Linked DNA regions of Homo sapiens: region 2 is linked to region 1. The links are contacts of gene promoters, found by promoter capture Hi-C in blood cells and fetal thymus (Javierre and others, 2016). All regions are on one chromosome and are shown on one strand. The core of a region is centred on a gene start or on the middle of the fragment in contact, and the rest is flanking DNA. Distances in the headings are between cores, read along the strand shown.

What was found. Contacts are between HindIII fragments. The CHiCAGO score rates a contact against its expected background, and 5 or more counts as called.
Region 2: the fragment with the promoter of MLF1 here is called in contact with the fragment with the promoter of SHOX2 in region 1 in 5 of 17 cell types (naive CD8 T cells, erythroblasts, endothelial precursors and 2 more); the score reaches 8.6 in naive CD8 T cells.

The regions. Positions count from the first base shown.
Region 1 is chr3:158,103,928-158,109,267 of GRCh38, reverse strand. SHOX2 (SHOX homeobox 2) reads left to right here and starts at 2,848. Exons shown (of 5, transcript NM_001163678.2): 1 at 2,848-3,589. The coding sequence starts at 3,244. RefSeq lists an enhancer at 2,157-2,660 and a silencer at 3,409-3,458. The HindIII fragment of the contact is 5,227 bases long and covers 1-4,031 here.
Region 2 is chr3:158,567,318-158,572,835 of GRCh38, reverse strand. MLF1 (myeloid leukemia factor 1) reads right to left here and starts at 1,642. Exons shown (of 8, transcript NM_001369783.1): 1 at 1,489-1,642. The coding sequence starts at 1,535. MLF1-DT (MLF1 divergent transcript) reads left to right here and starts at 1,770. Exons shown (of 5, transcript NR_104147.1): 1 at 1,770-2,665; 2 at 4,780-4,876. The HindIII fragment of the contact is 5,771 bases long and covers 1-3,337 here.

The DNA of each region.
Region 1 (5,340 bases), core at 1,599-4,098:
CTTAACTAGCCAGTTTTGAGGCACCGTTTTAAAACTTAACTACTACAACACTACGTGTATATTTTAAATAATTCAAGAGCTGGGGAAACCCTTGGGGTCCTGAATTTTATTGGAACCTGTGCATCTGTCCACAGACTGTCAGCTGAGCTTTACCATAAATGCTTTTTTTTTTTTTTAAACAAAAACTGTATTTTGAAATGCCCTGTTTCTGGAAGATATTTGCTGTTTAATGAAACAACATCATTGGAACTTTGTGAGCATTTATTAATGTATGAATTTAAAACCTTGAAATATTTTTTAAAGTAACTTCCCTTAGGCCAGTGGAAATCTGTGGTCAGACACTAAAGATTTCTCATGGCTCCATCTGTTATCAACACTACTATTCCTAAATATGCAATGAGCCAAAAAGCTGAGATCATGGGAAAATTTATTGGTTTGAATTACACAATAGTTGTGTCTGTGACTTCCCTGATTACCTTCAAAGTGGTCATCTTTCCCTCAAGCTCAGTAGATGAAATATGACTTCAAACCTAAAAGTCATGTACTTAAAAAGGCAAACAAGTAGCTGGTGGGTCTCCTGATTCCTTAACCGACTTCTAACAGTGGTTATTTTTGAGTTATTTGTGAATATGTATTTAACACCTCAGTTTGAGAGCACCTTGAGCACCGTATCCTCTTAGCTCTCCCTATTACTGGCCCTTCTGCTAAATAATCTTAAAAACAGATTTTCATAAAGGACTAAAGTTGTATGATTATTTTCCTCTGATAATATCAGAAAGTAGTTACAAAGAGTAACCCAAGACTCAATGTGAAATTGTTTCTAAATTCGTATAACTTTGAAACTTTGTCCCTTTTGTGGTGTAACAAAACAAAAGCAAGTACTGATAACAATGTATTCATACCTAAAAGCTATAGCTGCGGAAAAATTATAGACATTAGCTCTCCTAAAAGTGGCAAAAAATGAAATGTTTTAAAAAGGGAAAACAACGTTTCTAAAAAGCATGATATACATAATCCTTAAACTCACCAAACATGAACATTTTAATGTGAGTATTGTAGTATAACATAAGGTTATATCCAGCTTCTATCTACATCTATTTGAGAAACACTAATATATTAAGTTATAATTGTGTTCTCTTTTTGCAAGTGTTTCAGGTTGTTTTGACGGAACTTCTTAAATTATCTGCTAATTTGTTTTGATGCCTTAACCAATATACGGAAGATATACATATTAATGTTCTGTAATTCCTCTTATTTTTACTAAGAGTATTAGATCCAAAATAATGATCAAGTTACCTTTAACTTCCAGAAAGTCTGCATTAATATTCAGAGTACTTGAAAATGTCCCCTAAGCCACACTTAGAGGTATATTTGTTTACACACTTAAATATAACATCATATGTAAATATTCTTTTGTGAGTATGTATTTGCATAGCCACACTTCTCACAGCAAGCCCTGTCCGGCACAATACAGACAAATGACTCAGGAATATAGATGTTCCTCTAACGTAACAAACCGTTCCGATGAAAATAGCCCAGAAATAGAATTTTAAATCGTAAGCGGGGTGGTGGGGGGGGTAGGCAGAGAGACCTTTACTCCTGGCGAGCGTCTCTTTTTTAGCTCTCCGTAATAAATGAAATTAGAGGGGGTACAAACTTAACGTCGATTTTTTTTTCAGACTCGAAGAGGGATAATCTCTTGTTTTTCAAATTAGTAAATAAACTCGGATGTTTCCCAAGATGCTAAAGAAGAAGTCCTGTAATTCACCATAGAGGGGTCCGAGTGCAGAGAGTAAGGGAGAAGGGTGGGAGTTCTGAGACCTCAGAGAGGAAACGAACGAAGTCGAGCTGTCCTTGACCGGGCGCTAAGGAAACACTTTAAAATGAGATCTGTCAGCTAACAGCTGCTGGGGAAACTTGTTAAATCGACTGGTCCCTTTTAGCGGGGTCTGTCCATAGAGGAGTCAGCTGGGCTCCAGGACACGAATAATAGAGCGAATAACACGGACCGAGGGGCGAGGAGCTTGGAGAAGACCCGGACTCAGCCTGCCTGCGAGCCGGGAAGCTCCTAAGAGAAGCTGCGCGGGTCGGAGAAGGTGCAGGCAACCCTGTCTCTGGGCAGGATGATGCTGGGCGGTGGAGCTACGGCCGGCAGGGGTGGGATTGTGAGGGAGAGGCGGGGATGCAGAATTGGGATGCGGGGTCAGGATGCGGGAATGGGATGCGGGGCCTGTAAACTGCTGGGCGGTTGATGCAGGGCAGGGACGAGGAAAAGCAATGCGAAGCTGAGCATTGCGAGGCACCCTGACTCGAAGCAAGGCTGTAGGGAAGGATGCAGTGTCGGGATACCTGACTGACTCTAAGAGCTGCGCACTTGTCAGTTTCCTCTTGGCCCCACCCCGCGGGGTCTATCCAGCTCCCCAGTGTTTAACTAAGTCGTGACACCAACGCAAAATCCACGCCTAATTAAATTAATTAGGGATTCTTGTCAATCCTGGATTAATGGCCAAGAGCACAGGCGGCAGGGGCTATCTGAAAACCTGAGCGGCCGGGGACCGGCCTTCTCTCCCCGCCCCCTCCGGTCCCCCTGTGCTGCCCTACCACTCCAGCCCCAGCCCGCCCGAACTCCAATCTCTCTCTCTCCTCTTCTCTCTCTCTCTCTCTCTCTCTCTCTCTCTCTCTCTCTCTCTCTCTCTGTTTCTCTCCTTTTCCCCTCCCCAACCCCCGGTAGAGGCGCGACTGCTACCCGGGAAGGGGGCTCACTCCGAGTTGCGAGGGGAGGTAATTTACTCAAAACAAGAGGCCGCCGTTAGGAAGTATAAATAGTGGGACTTCAAGCGCAGCGTCGCTATCAGATCTGAACTCTCCGCAGGAAGAATTGTCAAAGATCTTAACATTGAACAAGCGCGCTCCGGCAGGGAAGCATCAGTTCCCATTTCCCTCCGGCAGCCCCCGCCCCTTCTCTTCTCCTCCTCCTCCTCCCTCTCCTCTTCACCCTTCTCCCCCTCTTCCTCTTCTTCCTCCTCCTCCTCTTCTTACTTCTTTTTCTCCTTCTACTTCTCCTCCTCTTTCTTCTTTCTTCTCCTCTTTTTCTTCTTCTTTCTCCTCCTCCCTCTCCTCCCCCACCTCCTGTCCCATTGATGTGTTATTATTGGGGGGGCTGGAGCAGTAAAAAAAGAAGAAGGAAAAAAAGAGCGGGGCTCTGCTGGCAGAGGTTGAGCGCCGGGCTGACGTGCGGCGGCGATGGAAGAACTTACGGCGTTCGTCTCCAAGTCTTTTGACCAGAAAGTGAAGGAGAAGAAGGAGGCGATCACGTACCGGGAGGTGCTGGAGAGCGGGCCGCTGCGCGGGGCCAAGGAGCCGACCGGCTGCACCGAGGCGGGCCGCGACGACCGCAGCAGCCCGGCAGTCCGGGCGGCCGGCGGAGGCGGCGGCGGAGGAGGCGGAGGCGGCGGCGGAGGAGGCGGAGGAGGTGTAGGAGGAGGAGGAGCAGGCGGAGGAGCTGGAGGAGGGCGCTCTCCCGTCCGGGAGCTGGACATGGGCGCCGCCGAGAGAAGCAGGGAGCCGGGCAGCCCGCGACTGACGGAGGGTAACGACCTGACTGACCCCCGGCAGCGGTTCCCCTTCCCGCCTTCCGGACTCCTCTCGGGCGGGAGAGGACTCCGAGGCCCAGCGGGGAGGGGAGAGGGACACGGAGAGGGCCCTGGACCCCAGCTTTGTCAGCTAGAGTGATAGTGGAAGGGTGGGGGTCCGGTGGTATGCTCGGTCATGGGTGGGGTCCTAGTGTGTTGTGGGGGTGGCGTGGGGGGAAGCGTGTGGGGTTTGTGCGCGCCCTTCCCAGATGTTCCCATTCCACCGAAATGCATTTTTCACCAGCGGGAGGATGGGCCCGCAGCCCGGATGGCCCGCAGGCGGACGTGGAAGTTCGCGGGGCCGGGCTGCAGGAGGGGGTGCTGAACCAGACGGCGGGACTAAAGCTAGCCTCTAGCGCAGAGTTTGCCGGGAGGGAGAAGGGGCAGAGGTGGAAAGCTTAACCCTCCGGTCGCCTAGGTGTTTGGGGCCGCCAAGACCCCTCGAACTCCGCAGAGCCCCTGAATCTTTGGATCTTAGGGGCCAAAACTTCCCATTCTCTTTCAAGGTAGAAGGAAGCCAACGAAAGCTGAGGTCCAGGCTACGCTGCTTCTCCCGGGCGAGGCGTTTCGGTTTCTTGGTGTGTTGGGGGCGGGGGGGGGGGGCGGCGGGGGAGGTGGGGATCTATATTTACACAATTCCTTTAGTGTTTTCAATCACCCAGTACTCGGTTCTCTTAGAGCAAAAATCCTTTGGTGCTAGCTCAGTGTTAGGAAACGTCTTTATCTCAATGGCAGAGCGTTCTATACCAATTCAAAGGAGTTCAACAATAAAATTGATTTGGCACTTGGTGCCTGCAGTAACTGGTGTACTGCCATATTTTTCCAATTAAGAAAATATGTGGCATGCGTGGAATCACATATTTAAGCAAGCAATTAAGTTGTTTATGACACGGTCTGTTCCTGTTTAGATCAGTAATTGGAAATTTGGGGACAAAAATAGAGATTTTATTAAGTCTATGGATCAACTTGAAATTTGGACATCTCCTCGAAGCCCCAAAACTTTGAGTGGCATCCACTGTGTAGATGACATGTAATAGACAAAGCCTTCCCACCTCATTGGCAGAATTTGAAGGGTGTGTTTTCATATTTAAATTTCAATACAATATCAGTAAAAATACTTTGCTATTAAATTGGCCCATAATGTTTACTATAATGTTCCTTCCTAAAGAAAGGACAAATGTCCACAAAACTAACTCTGAGAACTAGAAAATACGGCAATATTTAAGATCACCGTAGCTAGAATGCCCGGCAGGGCCGAGATCTAGCGACTCTTCTTCCTCCAAACCAGCACCAGGTCTTCCTAAATTTGTAAAGTGGTGGAGTTACCGTCAAGGTGCCCAGTGCAGCCTCCCGGCCATGAGTCCACAACTACAGGCCCGAACTACAGGTTCGCCAGCGCGCCTGACGGCGAGGTTCAGGTCTGAACCCCCGGCGGGCGCAGTTCCTGGGATTGTTGATTTCCAAGCTCAGGGCAAGTATTAATTTCTCTGCAGACCGGCTCTTCCGGAAATGATTTTTAACACCCATGCTGGCCTGGATCCTGCGCTGGGAAGAACTGCAAACAGCCTCGACTATCTAAACTCAGCTTTGACTTCTTAAAACCCGGAGTCTCTGATTCGGGCGCAGAGGATAAAGGTTCCAGGGGGATATATATATGGTGGCTGTATATGCTCACACTAGAAGAGCTCCTGTTTTTAAAGGGAGGAGA
Region 2 (5,518 bases), core at 393-2,892, 460 kb before region 1:
ACCTCACGTCCTCAACCATCCTCCTGCGACCTCACGCCCCCAAACCCTCCTCCCCCCACTGCACGCCATCAACTCTCCTCTGTCCACCTCACACCCTCAACCCTCCTACCCCCACACCTCATGCCCCTAAACCCTCTTCCCCACACCTCATGCCCCCAAACCCTCCTCCCTCCACCTCACGCCCCAACCCTCCCTCGTCCCACTACCTCTCACCCTCAAACCTCTTCCCCCTACCTCACGCCCTCAACCCTCCTCCCACATCATGCTCTCAAGCCCTTCCCACCAACTCACGCCCTCAACCCTTCTCCCCAACCCTCCTCCCACACCTCATGCCCCCAAATCCTCCTCAGCCCCTAAATCCTCCTCCATCCACCTCACACCCTCAACCCTCTTACCGCCACCTCACGCTCCCAAACCATCCCCACCAACTCATGCCCTCAATCCTCCCCTGCACTTCATACTCCCAAACCCTCCCCACCAACTCACGCCCTCAACCCTCGTCCCTGCACTTCAAGCTCTTAACTCTCCCCTGCACCTCATGCTCCCAAACCGTCCCCCCACCTCACGCCCTCAACCCTCCTCCCCCCACCTCGCGGTCCAAAACCCTCCTTCCCCTCACCTCACACCCTCAACCCTCCCCCACACCTCATGCTCCCAAATCCTCCTCCCACCTCACGTCCTCAACCCTCCTCCTACACCTCACACCTTCAACTCTCCCCCACACCTCATGCTCCCAAACCCTCCCCCCACCTCACGCCCTCAACCCTCCTCCAAACGCCTCACACCCCCAAATCCTCCTTCGTCCATCTCACACCCTCAACCCTCCCCCCTCCACCTTACTCCCCCAAACCCTCCTCCTCCCACCCCACGCTCCCAAACCCTCCCCCCACCTCACAGCCTCAACCCTCCTCCCCCCACCTCACGCTTTCAAACCCTTCCCCCACCTCACGCCCTCAACCCTTCCCCTCACCTCACGCCCTCAACCCTTCCCCTCACCTCACGCCCTCAACCCTTCCCCTCACCTCACACCCTCAACCCTTCCCCTCACCTCACGCCCTCAACCCTCCTCCCTCCCACCTCATGCTCCCAAACCCTTCCCTCACCTCACGCCCTCAACCTCTTCTCCCCACCTCATGCCCTCAATTCTCCTCCCCCCACCTCCCGGCCTCAACTCTTCTCCCCCCACTCCCAGCCTTAACTCTCCTCCCCACACCTCACGCCCCCAAACTTCCCTCCGCCTACCTCACGCGTCCAAACCCTCCTCTCTCCACCTCATGCGCCCAAATCCGTCTCTTCCCTGTCTCACACACCCCTAAATCCTCCTCTCTCTTCCCTCCCAGGCCTCCAAATCCTCGTCTCCTTCAAACCGCCTCCAGAGTTACTCCGAATTCTCTCTCGCCCTCTAAAACTCGCTCTTTTCCCTTAAAATAGCTCCCCTCGATACCTTAATTCCCGCGCGACCCCGGACTCCTGGCTCCCGTAACTCACGAGAAGAAGGGGTCATCCTCAAAACTGCTGTTCAGCATCCTGAACATTCTGGCTCTGTCTTGGGTGGCGGCAGCCGCGGACAGATTGGAAAAACGATGTTAACTCGCCGCGGCCGCGACAAGAGCTAGCCTCCAGTACGGACGACGCCTCACTCGCCGCGGCGCAGGCGGTGCCCGCCGGGATAGGAGGTGCGTGACACCGAGCTGCTTTCCCATTGGACATTGCTCTGTGACGTCACCAGGACGAGGCGGGGAGCAATGCGCCGCTGCCCTGGCAACCGCAATCAACACAGTGGAGGCGAGAAGTCTGGCCTTGCGCCGGCCGGGGAGCTTTTCGCCAAGGCTCCTGTGGGATGGGATAGCTTGTTCTCTGGGCTGCAGGAACCAAAACATTAGACCACCCTTTCTGTGACCTTGGGCATGCCGCCCTCGGTTCCGAGCCGCAAGTCTTTCTTTCGGGGAAAATGAAAAGGGGTCAAGATTTGGACCAGATGACACCCAATGTCCCATTCAACGGTCGCATTCTGTCATCCACAGGAATTAGTCCTGTATCCGAAACATTCTCTGGTAGTCAAAAGCTGTGAGCAAATAATAAGAAAAAATGTGCAAAACGTTTTTTAGTACAGTTAGCAAATAGTGTACTCAGTTGTTGAAGGAAATGGGATGAAGCCTATCAGATTTCAACAAACTTATTTACCTCTTGAGAAAGCTGCTCTCTTTTCGGTTGTCCTTCTGTGTCTCTCTTTCAAAGATCAAGTCTCACTGCGATGCTGATATGTTTTTAACACTTCTCCAGCATTTCTTAACCTAACAGCAGGTTTCAGGCACAGGCCTGCAGCAAGCAGCCATATCCAACTAAAATTCCACTACTATATGTTTTTATTTGCATTACATTTATCAGGGAGCTTTCTATTTATGGCAAGGAAACTGATTTTAAATTTAAATCAGTGATATACATCAAGAGCTAGATTTTGCATTTTTAAGTGAAAAAGTAAGCTATCAAATAGAACAGGTGGAATTTGGATATGGTGGGGCGGAGGGGTAGGCAGAGCAGGGGAGAGGAACATCGTGATAGTGGTACTCAAATTACTAAGTTTTAGAAAACACTATCACGGGGCCTTTCAGGAGCCTGGAGACAGATGGAGGGGAAGACAGAAGAGAGATTAAGGAGAAGAATGGTAAGAGTATAAGAAAAGAGAAAATACATCTTGCATGTCCACCCTTAATTCAGTGAGCTCCCCAGCTTCTCTACGTGGCTGTCTTGCAGAGATAAAGGGGCGTCCATAGCTCATCAGGGCCCCCTGGGATCAGGCCAGAGGGGTGGCACTTTGCCAGCATGAAGAAGTGTGCAAGCCCTGATTTGGAGGTGACAGGAGTAGTCAGGGGTTATTTTGAGAGCTGGAAATTTAATCGTTTGGATCTTTTACTCCCCATCCCCCTTTTTTAGCCAAGTTCTCTGGCAGCTTCCTTCCCCTGAGACTGGTGGCATGGGGTAGGGCAGACTTCACAGCCCAAGATGAGATGGCACAGCCCATCCAGGAAAGAGGATATTTTCTTTTCCTCTGGACTCAGAATAAAGCTCAGAGAACATATACACAAAATTTCGAAAATTTCTAAATAAATTTCAAGGCAAACAAAATTGTTTTATAAGACCTTAAATTGTTTTTCTCTTTAAAATAGTATAAGCACAAGATGTGAAGGAGGCCACACTTAAAAAAAAACTTGAAATGGAGTAAGTTATGTGATAAAAGATGGTGTTAAAATAGTTCTGGATTAAGGCCAAGTAAATTTGTAATGTTACCCTCTAGTTTCTGTGGGAACTTTTTTAGAATCACATTGTTATAAAAGCTTTAGTCCAGGCACAGGTTAGTCAGGGAATTAGCTGAACCTTGTGAAAGCAGTTTGGATCTAATGACAAATGCAAAAAAAAAAAAAAAGGAGGGCAGAGCAGAGTTGGCACTGAAGAGACCTTGACATCATTTTCAGAACTGATGGGTAAGAGGTGGAAATGAAAGAAAGCGTGGGTCAGGAGAGAATGAATACTCCAGCATGGGAGGAATAGAGATGCAGAACAGGACTGAGAGGAGAGGGTCCTGGACTTGGCTGTAAATATAATCATAATAGCTAATATTTATTGAATGTGTGCCAGGCACTGTTGTAGGCACTCCATATGCATTACCTCATTGAATCCTCATTAGCAGTTTTATGGAGTAGAGATGGCTTTTATCCCCATGTATAGATGATGCATTCAAGACACAGAGAAGCTGAATAAATTGCCAAGGTTCACACAGCTAGTAATTGAACTGAGCTGGGTACCTGGAGCTTTCCTCTGTGAGTGCTGGTTATATGGTATGTGAGTGATGAGTCATACTTAAAGATGCAGGATGAAAGCGGGTAATCATTTTTCAAAATCATGCTGACAAGCTAAATGGACCCAAACTAAAAAGTACAAAATTCAGTGGGAATATATTCACATCACATAAATTCAATTCTACAAATATTTATTGAGTGACTACCCAGTGTTGGGGACTGATCTACGACCTTAGGCATCATTGAACAAAACGGACAAAAATCTCTGCCTTCCCGGAGTTTATGTTCTTGTAAGGACAGACTCAAAATAAACAAAATAGAAAATAGTATATTGTAAGGTGATAAGTGTTAGGGAGAAAAGCTGATCAGGGTAAGGAGTATGGAGAGGTGCAATTATAAATAGCAAGTTTTGTGTACGCCTCACTAAGGGGAATTTGAGCAAAGACCCACAGGAAGGAAGTGGATGTCTAGTGGAAAAGCATTCCAGGGCAGTGCTAAAGTAGCATTTGCCTGGTGTATATAATGTACAGTCCTACTCATATGCCTTAAAACTCACCTTCTGAGTGAGGAATGAGATGAGCCAAGTAAACTGAAAATTGCCTAATAGGGTAATAGCTCTCATTTACACTTCATATATTCCAAGGATTGCACTAAGTGCTTCACATATGTTTTCTCGTTTAACCTTTACAGCAACCATGTCTAATATTATGTTTATCCCTAAATTGCATTAAAAAAAGCTGGGACCCAGATAAATTTGATAATTGAATTTTGATAATTGATTTGAAAGTTGATAATTTGATTAAATTTTGATGATTGAAATTTGATGTCACTCAATTCAAACCCAGATTTGTCTTACCCCAAAGCCTGTATCCTCACCACCATCCGTACTTTGCCTCCCTATTTTAAAAATTAACTATTTATGGAGCAAATATTTGCAGTAAACACTTTTACATCTATAATCTGTAACTACACTGTTGCTTAGGTTTCATTTGGAAGGACACTGACTAAGGAAAAACAGAGAAAAGGATGAAACCCAAGCCAACTCTGCAACTCTATTAAAAACACCAAGACTTCAATATGTAAGTGATTTCGTGTTTCTTTCATTAATTTATCAAATACTTATTAAGGACTAGTAATATCCCAGACATTATTCTAGACACTGAGGTTACAAAACTCCCTGGCCTTTCGGAACTTACATCCTAGTGGACAACTCTTTCCCCAGCTAATTTTACAAATACTGTTACAGCACCTCAGAATTTTCATAATGTTTCTGAAGACATTATCTCAAGTGCCCAAAAGAAAATAAACAGGCTCTTGAGTGCTGAACTTTTAACTTAATTATAGCTTTCCAGAGCCGTGAATATTAGGCCATTACAAACACCTTTACCACAATTAAGCTCAATGTGTCTAGGGTTTCGTTGTCCTAATCCCTTTGTCTTAAACAGTGCACAGAGGTCCTCTGAGAATGAGATGCCATAGCAAACTCACAAGGGGCTATGGGACAAATTTTGAGAGAAACTTGGCATGTGTTAGACATTGTTCAATGTACTAGTTTAGGGCAGTTCACATATTTCAATATTAGATTGCACTACATTGTTTTAGATGATGTCATATCATTGGAAAGGTAGGTTTCTGAAAGTTACTATGATGAAAATGAAGTACCTGTCAATGTGGAACAGGAAAGATTGGTGGCAACATTCAGTCTGTTTCTAAAGTTTGAA